Linked DNA regions of Homo sapiens: region 1 is linked to region 2. Evidence: promoter capture Hi-C in human tissues and cell types (Jung and others, 2019). All regions are on one chromosome and are shown on one strand. The core of a region is centred on a gene start or on the middle of the fragment in contact, and the rest is flanking DNA. Distances in the headings are between cores, read along the strand shown. Region 1 overlaps NKAIN3 (sodium/potassium transporting ATPase interacting 3). Region 2 holds the start of NKAIN3 (sodium/potassium transporting ATPase interacting 3).

Region 1 (7,164 bases), core at 391-2,890, 44 kb before region 2:
CCTGGGAAACATAGGGAGACCCCATCTCTACCAAAAAAATTAAAATACAAAAATTTACCAGCATGGTGACACGTGCTTGTGGTCCCCAGGCTAAGGTGGGAAAATAGCTGAAATTGGGAGGTTGAGTCTGAAAGTGAACCATGATCTTGTCACTGCACACCTATCTGGGTGATAGAGTAAGGCTCTGTCTCAAAAAATAGGAGTATTTAAGAGTAAAAAGAACACATCTGTTAGCAAATCTCTATGGAGCAGGGTGTTCAATGTTTATAATTTTATTTATTATAATCCTTTTTGTGTAGTCAAATAAAAAATACTGAATATGAGGGAAAGATACTCTCCATCAAAGTTTTTCAAATCAATTCATGTCAATACATATTTTCGAGTGCCTACTCTCAGAAAGGAACTAGGCTGAAGATGGCTGAATAGGAACAGCTCCAGTCTGCAGCTCCCAGCGTAAGTGATGCAGAAGACGGGTGATTTCTGCATTTCCAACTGAGGTACTGGGTTCATCTCACTGGGGCTTGTCAGACAGTGGGTGCAGCCCATGGAGAAGGGCAGAGCAACGCTTCACCCAGGAAGCACAAGGGGTCAGAGAATTCCTTCCTACCAAAGAGAAGCCGTGACAGACGGTACCTGGAAAATCAGAACACTCCCACCCTAATACTGCTCTTTTCCAATGGCCTTAGCAAACGGCATGCCAGGAGATTGCATCCCGTGCCTGACTCGAAGGGTCCCACCCTCACAGAGCCTCGCTCACTACTAGCACAGCAGTCTGAGATGGAACTGCAAGGCTGCAGTGAGGCTGGGGGAGGGGTGTCTGCCATTGCTGAGGCTTGAGTAAGTAAACAAAGTAGCCTGGAAGCTCGAACTGGGTGGAGCCCACTGCAGCTCAAGGAGGCCTGCCTGCCTCTGTAGACTCCACCTCTGGGGGCAGGGCATAGCTGAACAAAAGGCAGCAGAAACTTCTGCAGACTTAAACTTCCCTGTCTGACAGCTTTGAAGAGAGTAGTGCTTCTCCAAGCACGGAGTTTGAGATCTGAGAACAGACAGACTGCCTCCTGAAATGGGTCCCTGACCCCCGAGTAGCCTAACTGGGAGACACCTCCCAATACGGGCTGACTGACACCTCATACAGCTGGGTGTCACTCTGAGATGAAGCATCCAGAAGAAGGATCAGACAGCAACATTTGCCATTCTGCAATATTTGCTGTTCTGCAGCCTCCGCTGGTGATACCCAGGCAAACAGGGTCTGGAATGGACCTCCAGCAAACTCCAACAGACCTGCAGCTGACGGTCCTGACTGTTAGAAGGAAAACTAACAAACAGAAAGGGCATCCACTCCAAAACCCCATCTGTATGTCACCATCATCAAAGACCAAAGGTAGATAAAACAGCAAAGACAGAGAGAAACCATAGCAGAAAAGCTGAGAATTCTAAAAATCAGAGCGCCTCTTCTCCTCCAAAGGAACGCAGCTCCTCGCCAGCAACGGAACAAAGCTGGACGGAGAATGACTGATAAGTTGAGAGAAGAAGGCTTCAGACAATTGGTAATAACAAACTTCTCCGAGAAAAAGGAGGATATTCGAACCCATCGAAAAGAAGCTAAAAACCTTGAAAAAAGATTAGACGAATAGCTAACTAGAATAAACAGTGTAGAGAAGTCCTTAAATGACCTGATGGAGCTGAAAACCATGGCATCAGAACTACACGATGCATGCACAAGCTTCAGTAGCCAATTTGATCAAGTGGAAGAAAGGGTATCAATGACCGAAGATCAAATGAATGAAATGAAGTGAGAAGACAAGTTTAAAAAAAAAGAGTAAAAAGAAACAAACAAAGCCTCCAAGAAATATGGGACTATGTGAAAAGACCAAATCTACGTCTGATTGCTGTGCCTGAAAGTGATGGGGAGAATGGAACCAAGTTGGAAAACACTCTTCAGGATATTATCCACAACTTCCCCAACCTAGTGAGGCAGGCCAACATTCAAATTCAGGAAATACAGAGAACACCACAAAGATATTCAAGAAGAGCAACTCCAAGACACATAATTGTCAGATTCACCAAAGTTGAAATGAAGGAAAAAATTGTTAAGAGCAGCCAGAGAGAAAGGTTGAGTTACCCACAAAGGGAAGCCCATCAGACTAACGGTGGATCTCTCAGCAGAAACTCTACAAGCCAGAAGAGATTAGGGGCCAATATTCAACATTCTTAAAGAAAAGAATTTTCAACCCAGAATTTCATATCCAGCCAAACTAAGCTTCATAAGTGAAGGAGAAATAAAATCCTTTACAGACAAACAAAAGCTGAGAGATTTTGTCACCATCAGGCCTGCCTTACAAGAGCTCCTCAAGGAAGCAATAAACATGGAAAGGAACAACTGGTACCAGCCACTGCAAAAACATGCAAAATTGTAAAGACCATCGAGGCTAGGAAGAAACCACATCAACTAACAAGCAAAATAACCAGCTAACATCATAATGACAGGATCAAATTCACACATAACAATATTAAACTTAAATGTAAATGGGCTTAATGCTCCAATTAAAAGACACAGACTGGCAAATTGGATAGAGTCAAGACCCATCAGTGTGCTGCATTCAGGAGACCCATCTCACATGCAGAGATACATGTAGGCTCAAAATAAAGGGATGGAGGAAGATCTACCAAGCAAATGGAAAACAAAAAAAAAGCAGGGGTTGTAATCCTAGTCTCTGATAAAACAGACTTTAAACCAACAAAGATCAAAAGAGACAAAGAAGGCAATTACATAATGGTAAAGGGATCAATTCAACAAGAAGAGATAACTATCCTAAATATATATGCACCCAATACAGGAGCACCCAGATTCATAAAGCAGGTCCTTGGAGACCTACAAAGAGACACAGACTCCCACACAATAATAATGGGAGACTTTCACATCCCACGGTCAACATTAGACAGATCAACGAGACAGAATGTAAAAAAGATATCCAGGAATTGAACTCAGCTCTGCACCATGCAGACCTAATAGACATCTACAGAACTCTCCACCCCAAATCAACAGAATATACATTCTTCTCAGCACCACACTGCACTTATTCCAAAATTGACCACATAGTTCGAAGTAAAGCACTCCTCAGCAAATGTAAAAGAACAGAAATTATAACAAACTGTCTCTCAGACCACAGTGCAATCAACTAGAACTCAGACTTAAGAAATTCACTCAAAACATCTAAACTACATGGAAACTGAACAACCTGCTCCTGCATGACTACTGGGTGCATAACAAAATGAAGCCAGAAATAAAGATGTTCTTTGAAACCAATGAAAACAAAGACACAACATACCAGAAACTCTGGGACACATTCAAAGCAGTCTATAGAGGGAAATTTATAGCACTAAATGCCCACATGAGAAAGCAGGAAAGATGTAAAATTGACACCCTAACATCACAATTGAAAGAACTAGAGAAGCAAGAGCAAACACATTCAAAAGCTAGCAGAAGTCAAGAAATAACTAAGATCAGAGCAGAATTGAAGGAGATAGAGACACAAAAACCCTTCGAAAAATCCATGAATCCAGGAGCTGGTTTTTTGAAAAGATCAACAAAATTGATGGACTGCTAGCAAGACTAATAAAGAAGAAAAGAGAGAAGAATCAAATAGATGCAATAAAAAATGATAAGGGGGATATCACCACTGATCCCACAGAAATACAAACTACCATCACAGAATACTACAAACACCTCTATTCAAATAAACTAGAAAATCTAGAAGAAGTTGATAAATTCCTGGGCACATACACCCTCCGAAGACTAAACCAGGAAGAAGTGGAATCCCTGAATAGACCCATACCAGGTTCTGAAATTGAGGCAATAATGAATAGCCTACCAACCAAAAAAAGTCCAGGACCAGATGGATTCACAGCTGAATTCTACCAGAGGTACAAAGAGGAGCTGGTACCATTCTTTCTGAAATTATTCCAATCAATAGAAAAAGCAGAATCATCCCTAATTCATTTTACGAGGCCAATATCATCCTGATACCAAAGCCTGACAGAGACACACAAAAAAAGAGAATTTTAGACCAATATCCCTGATGAACATTGATGCAAAAATCCTTAATAAAATACTGGCAAACTGAATCCAGCAGCACATCAAAAAGCTTATCCACCATGAGCAAGTTGGTCTCATCCCTGGGATGCAAGGCTGGTTCAACATATGCAAATCAATAAACGTAATCCAGCATATAAACAGAACCAAAGACAAAAACATGATTATCTCAATAGATGCAGAAAAGGCCTTTGACAAAATTCAATAGCCCTTCATGCTAAAAACTACCAATAAATCAGGTATCGCTGGGACGTATCTCAAAATAATAGGAGCTATTTATGACAAACCCACAGCCAATATCATACTGAATGGGCAAAAACTGGAAGCATTCCCTTTGAAAACTGGCACAAGACAGGGATGCCCTCTCTCACCACTCCAATTCAACATAATGTTGGAAGTTCTGGCCAGGGAAATCAGGCAAGAGAAAGAAATAAAGGATATGCAATTAGGAAAAGAGGAAGTCAAATTGTCCCTGCTTGCAGATGACATGATTGTATATTTAGAAAACCCCATCGTCTCAGCCCAAAATCTCCTTAAGCTGATAAGCAACTTCAGCAAAGTCTCAGGATACAAAATCAATGTGCAAAAATCACAAGCATTCCTATACACCAATAACAGACAAACAGAGAGCCAAATCATGAGTGAACTCCCATTCACAATCACTTCAAAGAGAATAAAATACCTAGGAATCCAACTTACAAGGGATGTGAAGGACCTCTTCAAGGGGAACTATAAACCACTGCTCAACGAAATAAAAGAAGACACAAACAAATGGAAGAACATTCCATGCTCAAGGATAGGAAGAATCAATATTGTGAAAATGGCCATACTGCCCAAGGTAATTTATAGATTCAATGCCATCCCCATCAAGCTACCAATGACTTTCTTCATGGAACTGGAAAAAACTACTTTAAAGTTCATATGAAACCAAAAATAGCCCACATTGCCAAGACAATCCTAAGCCAAAAGAACAAAGCTGGAGGCATCACCCTACCTGACTTCAAACTATACTACAAGCCTACAGTAACCAAAACAGCATGGTACCAGTACCAAAACAGAGATATAGACCAATAGAATAGAATAGAGCCCCCAGAAATAATACCACACATCTGCACCCATTTGATCTTTGACAAACCTGACAAAAACAAGAAATGGGTAAAGGATTCCCTATTTAATAAATGGTGCTGGGAAAACTGGCTAGCCATATGTAGAAAGCTGAAACTGGATCCCTTCCTTATATCTTATACAACAATTAATTCAAGATGGATTAAAGACTTAAATGTTAGACCTAAAACCAGAAAAACCCTAGAAGAAAACCTAGGCAATACCATTCAGGACATAGGCATGGGCAAGGACTTCATGACTAAAACACCAAAAGCAAAGGCAACAAAAGCCAAAATTGACAAATGGGATCTACTTAAACTAAAGAGCTTCTGCACAGCAAAAGAAACTACCATCAGAGTGAACAGGCAACCTACAGAATGGGAGAAAATTTTTGCCATCTACTCATCTGAGAAAGGGCTAATATCCAGAATCTACAAAGAACTTAAACAAATTTACAAGAAAAAATCAAACAACCCCATCAAAAAGTGGGCAAAGGATATGAACAGACACTTCTCAAAAGAAGACATTTACGCAGCCAACAGATACATAAAAAAATGCTCATCATCACTGGCCATCAGAGAAGTGCAAATCAAAACCACAATGTGATACCATCTCACACCAGTTAGAATGGTGATCATTAAAAAGTCAGGTAACAACAGATGCTGGGGAGGATGTGGAGAAATAGGAAAGCTTTTACACTGTTGGTGGGACTGTAAACTAGTTCAACCATTGTGGAAGTTAGTGTGGCAATTCCTCAAGGATCTAGAACTAGAAATACCATTTGACCCAGCCATCCTATTACTGGGCATATACCCAAAGGATTATAAATCATGCTGCTATAAAGACACATGCACACGTATGTTTATTGCGGCACTATTCACAATAGCAAAGACTTGGAACCATCCCAAATGTCCATCAATGATAGACTGGATTAAGAAAATGTGGCACATACACACCATGGAATACTATGCAGCCATAAAAAAGGATGAGTTTATGTCCTTTATGGGGACATGGATGAAGCTGGAAATCATCATTCTCAGCAAACTATCACAAGGACAGAAAACCAAACACCACGTGTTCTCACTCATAGGTGGGAATAGAACAATGAGAACATTTGGACACAGGGTGGGGAACATCACACACCAGGGCCTGTCGTCAGGTAGGTGGAGGGAGGAGGGATAGCATTAGGAGATATACCTAATGTAAATAATGAGTTAACGGGTGCAGGACACCAACATGGCACATGTATACATTTGTAACAAACATGCATGTTGTACACCTGTACCCTAGAACTTAAAGTATAATTAAAAAAGATAAAAAGAAAGGAACTAGCCTATGTAAGGTAAACGCTGATGAAAACACTGTTCTCACGAAGCCCACAGTCCAACACGCAGGACATGTATATAGACCCAAAGGCAGAATGTGATTCTACCAAAGGCACTGTAGAAGCACAAGGCAAATGGAGAGGCTTATTTTACTCGGAGGGTTAGGAGGTTTTATTGAAGAGGAGCTATATAAACTGAGAATAAAAGCCTTCATAGGCTATTGTCAGGTGAAGGTAGAAAGAAGAGAAAGAGGTCATTAGGTGAGAAAACACGTGGAAACTAGGAAGTGCTAGAACATACAGGTTAAGCGGAGGCTAAGCAAGTCAATGTGATTAGAGCACGACCAGAGGGCATGAGATGCCTGTGCTTCCCAAAGGAGTCTGCAGGAAGATCACAGTAGAGGGAGATGACCAGAAGGACACAAAGAATAGCCAGGTTAGAATCAGAATGTGGAAGGACCATGTTAAGAATGTGCACTTTTTCTGTAGGCTATGAGACACCAGAATATTTTAATAGGCTAAAATTTTAATAGATCAAATCTTGATAAATGAACATAAAAAAACTCCTAAGAGAAATTTTATTTTACATTTAGTAGGTTTTCTAACCGAACAGAGGTGCTAATAGAATCCAACAATCAGGATT
Region 2 (6,255 bases), core at 1,920-4,419:
GGAATTTTGTGAGCCAGTTGTTAAATACAGCCATTATTAAAAATTAAATTATGCAAACTTAAATTTAAAGAAATCCTACTAAAAACCAAGGTACTGAATAGTTAACAGTTATTCCTTCCTAATTATTTTGCTGTGTTTTACTTTACCAATGCTTTTGAGGTTAGGCCTATCTTATGTATATGACGGAAATGCTATATAAAGTATACTTGAAATTGGTCGTGATGGGAGTATTTACACCAAAGAATTTGGCAAACCCCACAAATCAGCGGTTGCTTACTGTTTTGTTGATTGTCTAGGCTTTTTAAATAATGGAGAAATATTTTAAATAATGCATATTAAACCTAAAAGTGTGTCATGTCTATAGACATTACATTGTCAATAGCTATGAAAGAAACTGAGGAAATAATTTTTAAGTATTTAAAAACTATTATCCAATTCAGCCAAGAATCTTTTCATGTAATTGATGAAGTAAAGTTCGAATATTTTCTTCAAATTTTCACTTTCCTCTTTTTTCTTAAAGCATACAAAAATATTCACCAGCATTCATGTCAGATTTATAAAACCAAGAGTTTTTCAAACTCAGCAAAAAGATTCTGCCAAAATTGAATGGCTGTATGGAATTCACACTAAAGACTATTACATATTTTACTATTGCTATCATTTGTCAACAGAGAGCTACACATCTTTTACATAGAGAAGATTATCTTGTATGCTATTATAATGTAATATATACATTTGTTTTGTTTACAATCCAGTTGTTAAATGCTTACCATCACCCCAATATTTCTACCATCCAAAAACTCTTGATTATGGAAAAACTGTTTATGAATATCAACTTCCTCACCTGCAAACAAATGAAATGAGTATCTACCTCACAGGATAGTTTTAAAAGTCAAAAGAAATGTTTATGTCAAAGTCCTGTATGGATTGCAAATGTTATGTATTATCAAAAATTCAGCAAATATGTTTCAGCTCCTAATATGAGCTCTAAGAACTTGCAGAGTTTGTAAAGATCACTAGTACTATGGTCCCTACCCTCAAGTTGCTTACAATCTAGTGGTGAGAAATATGTGTAAATAACTTAAAATTATTTAAGAGTGTATCAAATGTTTTATAACAGAGGAAAAAGCGAAGTGCTATGAGATTATAGGAATATAAGGGATTTTACCTGGAGCACCAAGGAAGACTTCATTAAAAAATGGAATTTTAAGATAAGCTTTGACAAATAAGTTGCATTTGTATCAACTAAGAAAGTGGAAAGAAGGGGCATGCTTGGCTGATGGATGAAATCTCAAAAACATTATCATCACAATGCCTGTTAAGAAAATCATAATTGCATTGATAAATCTGCTACATAAAAACCTTACTTGTTATTTCCATGTAAAATAGAAATTAGGCATTATAGATTATGCAATCCAGCATGCCTATCTATAATCTTACATTGAATCAAGGGTTGACTCAATGTTTAGTCAGTTTTTCCAACTTATAAGCCATGTCCATTTCTGAAAACCAAAATACAAATCAAGCTCCTGCCTTCTTTTCTTAGTGAAAGAAAACATTCATATTGTTTTAAATTTTTAAAATTTTTTTCAAGAAACTATAAAATATGTTTGATTCAAGTATTTCACAAGACAGAAGGCACTATCCAATAGGCTTAAAAAGTCACTGATTTCAAACCTACGAATACATAAATTATGCATGCATTATGTGAACAATGAAGGGCACATCCAAAGTGAGGTTTTCATGGGAGACTGGAACACTGAGGCAAGAGAAAAGTGAAAACATTCTAAAGCCTTCATGTAAACAAGGACTAACTACTAAAAAGCACGATTTTATCCCTCAGTTAATAAGTCTTGCAAGGGATGACATTACTAAGTAAAGTTCATTGCAAGCTTTTTCCTCTCACTTGTCAAAATATACTAGTTTATATTTGTGACTCGAAAAAAAATACAATGCTTGGAAGAAAGCTTGGCAGAGCACTCAGAATCTGTCTGAAGTATAACGCAAGGGAGATGTCTATTAATCTCTCACACACAAAAGTCTGACTCAAAAGGTCTGTGGCCTTGACCTCAAGTGACCATGGAATAGACCACAGAGCCAGTCCAGGATCCAAAGGGATTAAGAGGAGCATTTGCTCTGCTCTGAAAGGGCCTTTTTTCCCCACTCTAGTTTCTAACTTCCCATTACACACACTCCCTCTGCAAGGCACCGCGCCAATGGAGCCGGTTCACTCTGTTCTCTCCTTGATGACAGCTGTCAGTCTGTCGCCGCCTGAACATGCAACATTTCAACAAAATCCAAAGCGGAACTGGAAGGGCAGGGGCTGAAGCACACAGCCTGATCTCCTTCCTGGAGGTCCCAGACTCCTTAACCATCACTTTTCAACCTGCTTAAGGTTAGAACCACCTCACTCTTCACTAACAGAGTTGAGGCAGCTTCTGTCTCCTCAGAACCTGGGCATTCCCACACAGTGTAATTAAGCAACATTCCTGGAAATCATCCTAAGAAGAAAGAGCCCGCAAGTCCCCGTGTAACTTCAGCACGAACGCGGAGGGTGCTAAACCAGGTATCGGATCAAGGGGCGGGAAAATCCCTCACTCCGCCGGCTCCTGGCCCCTGGACCGCGTGGCGACGCCCGGCGGGAGCGCGGCGAACCCCAGCGCATGGGACCGGGGGTGAGACCGCGCCCTCCTGCAGGGCAGGGGCGACCTGGCGAGTGCCCGCGGCTGGAGAGCAGTGCGAGCCCAGCCAGGCGGTGGGGAGGGTGGGAGGCGGGCGGAGCGCCCTGTTCACCCGTTCGCCCCTTGCCGGGAGCTGCGGAACCGCAGAGGGAGTCGCAGAGGCCGGTCCTGGAGCAGGGACCTGTCCTGGGGCAGGGGCCCTCGGGGCACTCACCAACTGCAGCGCGCAGAGGCAGATGAGCGAGCAGCGTCCGGTGCAGCAGCCCATGGTGCCGGCGGCGTCCGAGCGGCGCTGACTGCCAGAGATCCTCGTCCTCCGCCGCTGCTGCCTCCTGACTCCGGAGTAGTCCCCGCCCGGCCCGGCCCAGGCTCCTCGGCCCCGCGGCCGCCGCTCGCGGCTCCAGGGCTCGGGGCTCGCGCCCGCCTTTGTTAGTTTCCCGGCGGGGCGGGCCGAGGTCAGTGCGGTGCGCACGACCCGAGCGTCTGGCGGGGGTCCCTGCGTCCCACTGTGCAGGTCTGTTTCTTGGGGAGGGGGAGCCAGGCGGGCGGGGCGGGGGGTTGGAAGGAGGCTACAGATGGCGAGTGGGTGAATGTCTGTTTAGGGGAGGGGAGTATGTAGGAGGTGGGCGTCTGGAAAGTGGAGTGGGCTGTCTGGGTCCGGGTGTGTGTGTGTGTGTGTGTGTGTGGTGGGAAGGGAAGAATGAAAGGGAGTGCCGCTGGGGAGGATCGGCCTGTCTAGTTAAGAGTCTTTGGGGAGAAAGGAAGAGGGACAGAGAGAAAAGAGAATGAATATGAATGAGCGTGAATTAGGGCGGCCGGCGGCGATGGAGACCCTCGTTGACCGGTGTAACTGGGTAGACCCAGCTGGGCTTTCTTGCTGAGGGTTGTGCTGGGGGTTGGGAGGGTGGTCGGACGCGTTTGCAAGGGAGGGGACACGGCTTAGTTGAGCTGCCCCAGAGGTGGCGAGGATGGGAGTTGGGTTAGCTTGGGTTCCGGGGAGGAAGGGCCGGGACGCGAGACACCCAGGGTGGGCGGGCGCCGGGGAGCGCAAGGCCCAGCTCCGGAACCTGCCCGGATGCGAGGGGGCCCGCGGGCGCTGCGCGGGCAAGTCTGTTGAGCCGGCGCTGGGCACGCAGCTCGGGGGTCTCCCATCCGAGCTTGCTTCTGCCCGCCACAGCCGGTTGCCTGGAGGGCGCCCCTGCTGGAGTCTGAAAGGGAAAGTTGGACAGAGTTGGGTGGCAAGGGGCGCTGCGGCGGAGCGATGCACCCGCCCAGGGCGCCGGGACTAGCCAGGACGCCGCGGGGAGACCTGGCTTAAGGTTCTTTTCTCACATACCCTTTGAAATCCTCACCGGGAGGGAGAAAAGAGAAGTCGAGGAAGAAGAAGATGCGTAGCTTTTTCTAGAAATGGAGAAGGTTTCCGGAATAGGTATAAATATATCTTCACAGAAATAAATTGAGAAGGATTTGGAAAGAAGATCTCGGATAGTTAAGATACGGACAAACTCTCTCTGAATCCTGTGGAAACTCTCCTGCTCTCTCCCACCTAATAAAACAGAGCGGAGGCGTTCTGCAGAGGATGAAATTTCATCAGGGCTCAAAGACAGATTTTATGGGCGCATTTGTTGTACCTGGTGGAACTGCGCAAGGAGCTCAAAAGCACACCAGAACAGGGAACAAGCCTGCAGGCCAATTATCTCAGAAAAGGCTGTTTTCAGAATTTGGCACAGAAACCCTGTTTCTAGCCCACTGCTGCCCTCCTGGGTTCTTGGCGGTAGGTTGGTAAGAAAAGGCAAGACATCTTTGCGTTTTTAATACTTCCACTCCAGACATGGAAACTGCTCAAGCCGTTAGTTCAGGCGTTAAAAGCAGTCCTGTTTTTATTTTTATCCTTTCTGAAACGTTTCTTCAGGATCTATGTTTATAATTTAAGACGGTTATCATTCCCAAGGAAGTCTGCACATCTTTGAAATTCTAGTAGGGACACATGAATAACCTCAGGATTTGGGTTATTAAAAGGGTCAAGAACATTCATTGTTTACATTCCACCTCTGATATTATCATGGAGACAGGAGAAGTCCAGTCAGAACTCCTCCTCCTTTTTTAATTCAAGCGTTAAGACATCAGTGATCAAGGATCATGTGAGCACGCTGCCTTTATGCACAATCCACGTACTCGTCATCATTCTTTATGGATGAAAACAATAGAAAAAAATGAACACTGACAAATAAGTAGTTTAGCATGTAGAAAAGGACATTGCAGAACATCTCAGGCCATTGACCCCTCTAAAAGCTGTAGGAAGCAGCTGAAAAGTGAGAGGACATGAACAAGTCTTCTATCTATAACTTCCAGAAATTGTTGTAACCTTTTCATCTCCAGAGACTGTGATGAATGATGGTAATAAAAATACTGACACTTCCTTCTCTCCAAATTACATATGTTTACCCCAGTATACTTTGTCATGATTTTATTTATTTAGGAAGTACCATATTAGCAGCTAACTTGCACTGGGTCCTTGCCAGGTGCCATACACCCATCTAAGTACTTTATGTGTGTTCACTCATTTAATCATCACTGCAACCTCATTGGGGTGGGTGCTGTGAGCATCATCACTGAAAAGATAGGGAAACAGGAGGAGAGGCTCCCCTGGCTGCTAAACCAGGAAGAGGAATACAAAGCCAGGGAATTTGACTCTAGAGCTCCTGGATTTACATATTCCCTGTGCTGCCTCTGAAACTTGGGACACAAATAGCAGTTACCCACAGGGAAGCTAACTGTTCCCTCATAAGCAGGTGTAATAATGTACATTGATCTAACATTCAGAGTTAGTACCACCCATGTGGTATGATTTTAGGAGACCAGGAGGGTCCCTTGTACCTCTCCCTTTCCCATTGCTGCCTTTACTGATAGCCTCAAATTGGAGTTTCTTCCTTGTGTAATTTAAGATGTTGAAAAATGCATTTGTACTAAATGCATTTAAATAAGAAACAAAGATAACACAATGCTAATAAGAAGTCTAGAAATTGTGTGAAGCTACCTTCATTTTTCTCTGCAATCTCTTATTCTCATTTTCTAAATTGTATTACATCCAGAACTAAAAATCTTTCTCCCTTCCTTTTTTTCCTTCTTTTCTCCATCCTTCCCTCAAATACTTCTTACAAGTTCACTTCTTAATTGCTTCTATGCAAAGGGCTGTGCTAGTTGCCTACTCTGCAAAGGTAAATGATACCACTCCCTCTCTTCCCCTCAAGGACTTACAGGTGGGAAGGGAGAGCAGATGCAGGCATAAAGTAGCACTCCCTCTGAAAGAGGTTAGTGCCGACTGCTGTCATTAAGTTTTCTTCCTATGAGAGTTAGAGAAGGTTTAAAAGAGGAATTACCAGTCTCTTGGGGAGAGGAAATGAGACTAAAAAATGACAGAGCAATGGAAAGGATGCGGCCTGGACAGGAGTTGGGTAAAACCAACTGGAGAGGAAATAATCTAAGTAGAACAGCCCATCAGCTATATGGCTGTTCATGCTGCTTCTTGGCCATAGAATCTCAGAGAAGCCATTTTGCTCCCCTGTGAGCCCTG

Evidence for each region. The method cuts DNA at HindIII sites, captures the fragments that hold promoters and counts their contacts. A contact is called where the count stands out against the background at its distance.
Region 1: a contact is called between a fragment that was not itself captured here and the fragment with the promoter of NKAIN3 in region 2, in 2 of the 25 tissues and cell types used here (stomach and thymus).

What each region holds. Positions count from the first base shown.
Region 1 is chr8:62,287,593-62,294,756 of GRCh38, reverse strand. The region is part of intron 1 of NKAIN3 (sodium/potassium transporting ATPase interacting 3); the gene reads right to left. Among named protein-coding and RNA genes, the nearest start is that of NKAIN3, 42 kb to the right of the region's middle. The HindIII fragment of the contact is 3,126 bases long and covers 78-3,203 here.
Region 2 is chr8:62,245,768-62,252,022 of GRCh38, reverse strand. NKAIN3 (sodium/potassium transporting ATPase interacting 3) reads right to left here and starts at 3,169. Exons shown (of 7, transcript NM_001304533.3): 1 at 2,896-3,169. The coding sequence starts at 2,949. LOC124901952 (a long non-coding RNA gene) reads left to right here. Exons shown (of 2, transcript XR_007060932.1): 1 at 1-2,566. The HindIII fragment of the contact is 6,824 bases long and covers 1,555-6,255 here.